2 separate regions of the Homo sapiens genome follow, and region 1 is linked to region 2. The links are contacts of gene promoters, found by promoter capture Hi-C in human tissues and cell types (Jung and others, 2019). All regions are on one chromosome and are shown on one strand. The core of a region is centred on a gene start or on the middle of the fragment in contact, and the rest is flanking DNA. Distances in the headings are between cores, read along the strand shown. Region 1 has its middle 160 kb from the start of SLC41A2. Region 2 holds the start of TXNRD1 (thioredoxin reductase 1).

Evidence for each region. Contacts are between HindIII fragments. The study calls those that stand out against the background at their distance.
Region 1: a contact is called between a fragment that was not itself captured here and the fragment with the promoter of TXNRD1 in region 2, in 1 of the 25 tissues and cell types used here (heart left ventricle).

Annotation. Positions count from the first base shown.
Region 1 is chr12:104,795,796-104,799,099 of GRCh38, reverse strand. No RefSeq gene overlaps it. Among named protein-coding and RNA genes, the nearest start is that of SLC41A2, 160 kb to the left of the region's middle. The HindIII fragment of the contact is 7,020 bases long and covers 1-3,304 here.
Region 2 is chr12:104,214,462-104,218,054 of GRCh38, reverse strand. TXNRD1 (thioredoxin reductase 1) reads right to left here and starts at 2,276. Exons shown (of 17, transcript NM_001093771.3): 1 at 2,162-2,276. The coding sequence starts at 2,252. RefSeq lists enhancers at 1,268-1,883, 1,884-2,500 and a silencer at 2,324-2,413. The HindIII fragment of the contact is 11,252 bases long and covers 1-3,593 here.

The DNA of each region.
Region 1 (3,304 bases), core at 18-2,517, 580 kb before region 2:
AAAATAGCCATGGTTAAGAATCTGACTTTGATTCATTACAATCAGCAATTGACAAGGAAATTTGGTTATTTTATGGCATACAATATAATAACCAGAATTATGGCCAATAAGATATTAGATTTCTAAGAGTTTTGTACAGTTGGGGACATTCATATCAATAACATACCCATAAATGTAACTGAAAGAAAACCTAGCATCACTTATCATTTGACAATACTTCCCGTACAAACAAGCCTAGTCACTTAATATCTCTACAAGATGAAAGATACATCCTTTGAGGCTCTCCAGTGGCCCACATGGAAAATCCTGAAGTTAATTCTAGGTCAAAAAGATTTAATTTAGAATGTTGATCCTGGAGAAGCCTGCCAAAGATGCCAAAAAGTTCAAAATACTTGATCAAAACAGGATCGCAGGTCACTGTGAAATAATAGCCATTCATTTAACCAGAGTGATAATCCAAAGACTTCAAAAGCAATAAAGTTTCATAAATGTAAAAAAAAAAAGCAACTTTTTCAAAGCTCAATTTTTCTACATAATAATAAAAATAAAGATAACAACAGGAAATTATCTTGGTAAATATAAAATATTTGCTTTTTAGGCCAGTTACCAAAAATAAAAACCTCCTCCAGTGTAACTGCTTCTCCTTATGGGAAGCCTATTTAGATAATCTGGAAGTCAAACCTCATGAAAGGGTACTTGAACTTAATCAGACACAGGAAGAGTGTGCCCAAGGTTATGAATGTATACCATATTATAGAGAAATATAAACAAGAAAACTAGTACCTTGAGCAGGGGAATATATGTCTCTTACTAACATCATCAGAAGTTTCCTGGTTACATGGAACAATTCAGACACATTAAGAAAAGCCAACAGAATTAAGTTATACTAGAAGAAAACACTGATTTTCCAGGCCTTCAGGATAAGCATTTTACTGTCAGGTTATAACGACAGAGTTGGAGCTGGAGAAAAAAGTTAAGGAATGACAAAAAAGTTGAAGGAGAGAGAGATCATCTCAGTCCTTCTCAAGTAGAGAAAGAAGAACAGGAGGCAAGATGTTATGACCTGCAAATCACATGTCGCAAGATAGAGCCAAAGTCGAACTTCTGAGAAATAGATCTGAGAAGCTTCAACAGGAAAACTCTACCTTGTTAAATGAAATTACCAACCTGAATGAAGACAGCATTTTCAGCCTGAAACTAGGGACATTAAATGAATGTCAGGAAGAAATGTGGCAGAAATAGAAACTGTACAGTTTAGAAAATGCCTGCTAAAGAAACAGATTTTAGAATTAAAAATAAAAATGTCTTGTAATTTTTGCTAAGAGCAGATCAAAAATTTGAGAAAACCTGGCTATTCTAGCATAGGGGACCAAAAATTTAATTTTGTATTAGTGTATTTTTAATATCAAAGTTCAATCTTTAGAAAAACTTACAAATAATTCCCTTCTAATTGTAACCAACATGATCACACAAAAATTGCTTTTATAAATTCATTCTTCACAAACCTTATCATGATTTACTCAGACACTCGATATGCTTAGCTTTTTTGCTTTGTCCTCTACTTCGTCTTTCTTAAATAACCAGTCATTTGATGTTAGGACAAAAATATGCCACTCAAGATTCTTTCTTATACAAAATTATTCTCTTCCTCTTAAACTTCCTTACCAAAAACATATCTTCACTGTCAAAGTCACCAATAGCCTCCACATTGCCAAATCCAATGATCAATTTCTAATAAGAATTCTTACCTTATTTAATCTCTAAAGTCATTTAACAGAATCTCCTTCCATCTTGAAATATTTTCTTTACTTTGCTTCCAAAAGTCTGCCCTTCGCTTTCTTTCCTTACCCTACTAAAAGCCCCTTCTCAGTTTGTTTTGCTGGTCGCTTCTCTTGTTCTCAATCTCTAAATGTTGGAATGCTCTAGGGCTCAGTTTTATCATCTCTTCTCTATCTACTTTCTTTCCCGATGTGATCTTACCCATCTTATTGTTATAAATATCATCTGTACTGATTATTCCAAAACTGTCTAGTCCCAACCTCTCAACTGAGTTTTAAATCTGTATTTCCAAATACCTGCCAGACAACTCTACTTGAATGACGACTAGGTATCTCAAGCATTTGAACACTCTCATCCACCTTGACCTAATTGACATCTGTAGAACACTTTATCCAACAAATGCAGAATACATATTGAAGGTTAATCTCCTTGGCAAACAAAGAACTTTTATAAATCAAGGGAAAAAATACCAGCAACCCAATAGTAAAATAACCAGAGGAGAGATGGTTCACAGAAAAAAAAATTTAATACCACTCAAAAAAATGCTAATTAAAATCACACTGAGATACTACTTACCTATCAGATTGGCAAAAATTCAAAACTGGATAAAACATTCTCTTGGCAAGGCTGTAGGGAGACAAAATTGCTGGTGGTAGAGCAGAATAAAAGCTCTATAGTGGGGAATCTAGCCATATATAACAAAATTACAAATGCACTTGTCATCCTATCTTGTAATTTCACCATTACTAGGCAAGTAAAGGCTGGGCCCTTTGCTGCATGATTTATAGCAAAGTTTGGCAAATTTCAGCCAGTGGGCCAAATCCAGTTTGCTGCCTGGATAAATAAAGCTTATTAGAATTCAGCCATGTCCATTCATTTCCATATGGCCTATGGCTGCTCTCCCTCTATACAGTAGAATTGAGTAGCCTTAAAAAAGACCATAGAGCCTGAAAGCCTAAAATCTTTACTATCTGGCCCTGCACATACACATACACACACATACACACACACACACACACACACACACACACACACACACACACACACACACACACGTTCACCTACCCCTTCTTTAGAGTGAATTCCTAATTTCTAAATCTTCTTTCTAAGTCTCCCCACTGATAGCGAGACTAGCTGGAGTCAGCAGTGCCATCTGGGCAGGGTGCCCCAACTTGGAACTGATCCTGTATGGTCTCCAGTTGGCAGAAGCTCCTACCTTACAGTTTTGTAAGTTGCCATCCAAAGCCTGAGACTGGCCAGTGGGCTGGCAGTTGGCCCAGTTTCTGTTTTTCCCCTTGTTTGAGGTCCACCAGAGACCAGAGACTCATGCCTATGGGGTAGTTCCAGGATTCTATGGCCAGCCCTAGTTCCAGAAAGGCATTTTGATGAGTTGATTGCTCTTACTGACCAAAATGACATGTTGATTTTGTGTGACTTTCATGTCAGACACAGGGGAAGTTGAGAGCTCTGGGCCACTAACTGTCCATAGTTAACCCTTGGACTCAAGCCGTAGCTGTCTTATATC
Region 2 (3,593 bases), core at 1,027-3,526:
TCCATCTCGGGAAAAAAAAAATGTGGTGTGTGTGTGTATATATATTCCATTTTGTGTGTGTGTGTGTGTATATATGTGTGTGTGTATGTACATATACACACACACAATGGAATATTATTCAGCCTTAAAAAGTAAGGAAATCCTGTCGCATGCTACAATACAGATGAAACTCGAAGACAAGTATGCTAAGTGAAACAAGCCAGTCACAAAAAGACAGACACTGTATGATACCAACTTATATAAGCAATCTAAAGTAGCCAAATTTCACAGAAACAGAAAGTAGAATGATGGATACCAGGGGCTGGGGGAAACGGCAAATGAAAAGTTAACGAGTTGGCATGGAGTTTCAGATTTGCAAGATGAAAAAGTTCAGGGGATCTGCTTCACAACAATGTGAATATACTTAATACTGCTGAAAACTGTATACTTAAAAACGGTTAGGGTCAGCTGGGTGCAGTGGCTCATGCCTGTAATCCCAGCACTTTGGGGAGCTGAGGTGGGCAGATCACCTGAGGTCAGGAGTTCAAGACCAGCCTGACCAACATGGTGAAAACCTGTCTCTATTAAAAATACAAAATTAGCCAGGCGTGGTGGTGCATGCCTGTAATCCCAGCTACTTGGGAGGCTGAGGCAGGAGAATCGCTTCAACCTGGGAGGTGGAGGCTGAGGTGAGCCAAGATGGCGCCATTGCACCCCAGCCTGGGCAACGAGAGCGAAACTAAAAAAAAAAAAAAAACAAAATTGTTAAGATGGTAAATTTTTTTTTTTTAACCACACACAAAAAGAATGTAGCTAAAGAAAAACAGTAAATAAATGGAAGGACATAGATATCAAGAAGATCCTGAGGATGGCACATGAAACGTCAATTTGGGATGCACCTGCTCAAACTCCTTCATTGTACTAATGGCCACAAATTAGCTGCCTGACCTGGACCTTGCCTGACCTTGCTCCTACCCTGTTCCTTTATTCTTCCCTTCCCCTAATCCAAGTCCTTAACTCCAGCAGGATATACAGGCCTCCCTATCTCTAGCATGGTCTCACCGGCTGCTTCCCCTAACAAGAATGTTCTCCCTTCAGACACCTCTACCAAATCCTACCTCATCTATGGGAGCTGCCATCCCCACTTGGCTGTTTTTACCACTCCTTTTAGCCCTTCACCATATGCTGCCTTGTAACTAAACTGTAAGCCTTTGAAAGAGGCAGATCCTACAGCATTTAATAATTCTAGCCATTGGGCAAGGCACTTTTTGGAGCCTCACTTTCTCAAGCCTATAAAAAAGGTGGAGGCGGCCATATGACTATGACCAGGGCTTTTGAGTCAGATGGCCTCAACTGGTATCCCAGCTCTTCCACTTACTAGTTGTGTGCTTTGGGTAAGTTTTATAACCTCTTTGCTTCTCAGTTTCTTCATCTGTATAATGGGGTTTATGATAAATCTCTCAGTATGGCTGGAAACATGAACCAAGATTATTACCCATGTCTAGTGCTTCCAAAGGCCCCTCTCATGTCAGTGCTTAGTAACCACTAGCCATTATTGGCATTATCCGGACAATGGAGAAGAGACTGGGAGCTTTCTCTTCTGGAAGAACAAGTGAAAGGATAAAGCGGGATGATGGTGGGAGAAATGTGCCCAAAATTCAAGGGGATGGAGAAAGGGGGCCGGGAAGGCGTGTCGGACAAGATTCTCGATGGAGGAGGATGCTGGGAGTGGGCCGGGGGCTTCTGGAGAGGTGAAGGGGCACCCCCGGACTCGGCTGTCGGTTTGGTCGCTTCCCCCGTAACCTTTCATTGGAAACACGGTGCTTGTAGGAAGAGGACGCCCTAACGGGCCCTGAGCGAAATCAGGCGGGTCGCTGCCGAGATCTCGGTTCGGTTTCCGACAGGTTTCCGGGCAGGTCCTCGCGGCGGGCCCGCTCCTCCTTCCACCTCCCACCTCTCTCACAGCCAGCGGGCGGGGCAGCCCTCGGCCGGCCGCCGGCCTCCGTCTCCCGGGGTGACCTGGGGGAGCGTTTCTGGGGTCTCCAGCGTGGCGCGCGGTCAGTCACTGACTCCAGTGAGGGGCTTCAAGGCCAGGGCTCCGGGGCACTTTATCCCCAACCCCGGCCGGAAGGCCCGCTTCGGCCCGTCGACCTGGGGACCAGGCCTTCGCCCTCGGTCGTACCTGACCTACGGCGGCCATCGCCGTTCTTGCCTTTCGTCTGCAGCTCCGTTGGGGCGGCCGCCGCCACTGCCTTGCCCTCGGCGCAGCCCATGTCGCACAAGGCCCTGTGGGAACTGACGGAGCCGAAGGACGCCTGGCGGAGGCCGCGAGCCCCCTGCCGGCCGCGGGTCGGAGAACGCGGTGGGCGGGGCGCTCGGTGACAACAGCGAAGTCATAGCCCGTGTATCTTCTTCAAGGTCGTGAATTTTTTTTTTTTAACAGGAAAGAACGGTCGCTAAAGGTAAATTGGAAAATGCAGAAATGGAAAGGAGAAAAGAGCGCACCACCCAAAATCCTTATCCTTCGGCTGGGCGCGGTGGCTTACACCTGTGCACTTTGGGAGGCCGAGGTGGGAGGATTGATCGCTTGAGCCCAGGAGTTTGAGACCATCCTGGGCAATGTAGAGAAACCCTGTTTCTACAAAAAATAATTTTAAAAAATTTATCCTTCACACAAACTACTTTTGCTGTGTTTACTATTTCTTTCCAGTTTTTCCCCTCTATGCATAGTTTTGCATCCAGCATTTCACTTAATACTAGTATTTTCCATACTATCACATAGTCTTGTAAGCCTCCCAGATAACCACCTGGCTTCCACTGTCACTTCAGTCTTTGCCTCTTTGACCGTAGATGAAGCATACACTGAACATCGTAGTTTCTTTTTAATACACTTTATTTTTTAGAGCAGTCTTTTTTTTTTTTTTTTTTTGAGACGGAGTCTCACTCTGTCACCCAGGCTGGAGTGCAGTGGCGCGATCTCAGCCCACTGCAACCTCTGCCTCCCAAGTTCAAGCGATTCTCCTGCCTCAGCCTCCCGAGTAGCTGGGACTACAGGCGTGTGCCACCATGCCCAGCTAATTTTTTGTATTTTTAGTAGAGACGGGGTTTCACCGTGTTAGGCAGGATGGTCTCGATCTCCTGACCTTGTGATCCGCCCGCCTCGGCCTCCCAAAGTGCTGGGATTACAGGCGTCAGCCACTGCGCCTGGCCTTAGAGCAGTCTTAAGTTCACAGCAAAAAGACCATCCTATTTGAACAGAAATCTGATCACGCCCCCCTCAACTCTACCCCCACCCTTTACTTTACTCTATTTTATTTTTACCAGCACTGAGAGCCTTCTAACTTACCCTATATTCTCTGTCACCTGCTCCCACTCCCTCCGCCAGCCTCCCCACGACACCCTGCCCATGTAAACGCTGCCAAAATAGAACCTTTGCATTTTTTTCTTGTATCTTGGCCTTCAGCTTGGGCCAGGTGGCCTCCCCCACCTCTTGAAGGAAAGCAGGGAAGAAGCGGGAAAATATTAATTTGAATAATTATAATAATGTAATAGTCCATCCACTAGAGCTACTGGACGATTACATAGCCTATTATTAGATGTTTAGTTTGTTTTTT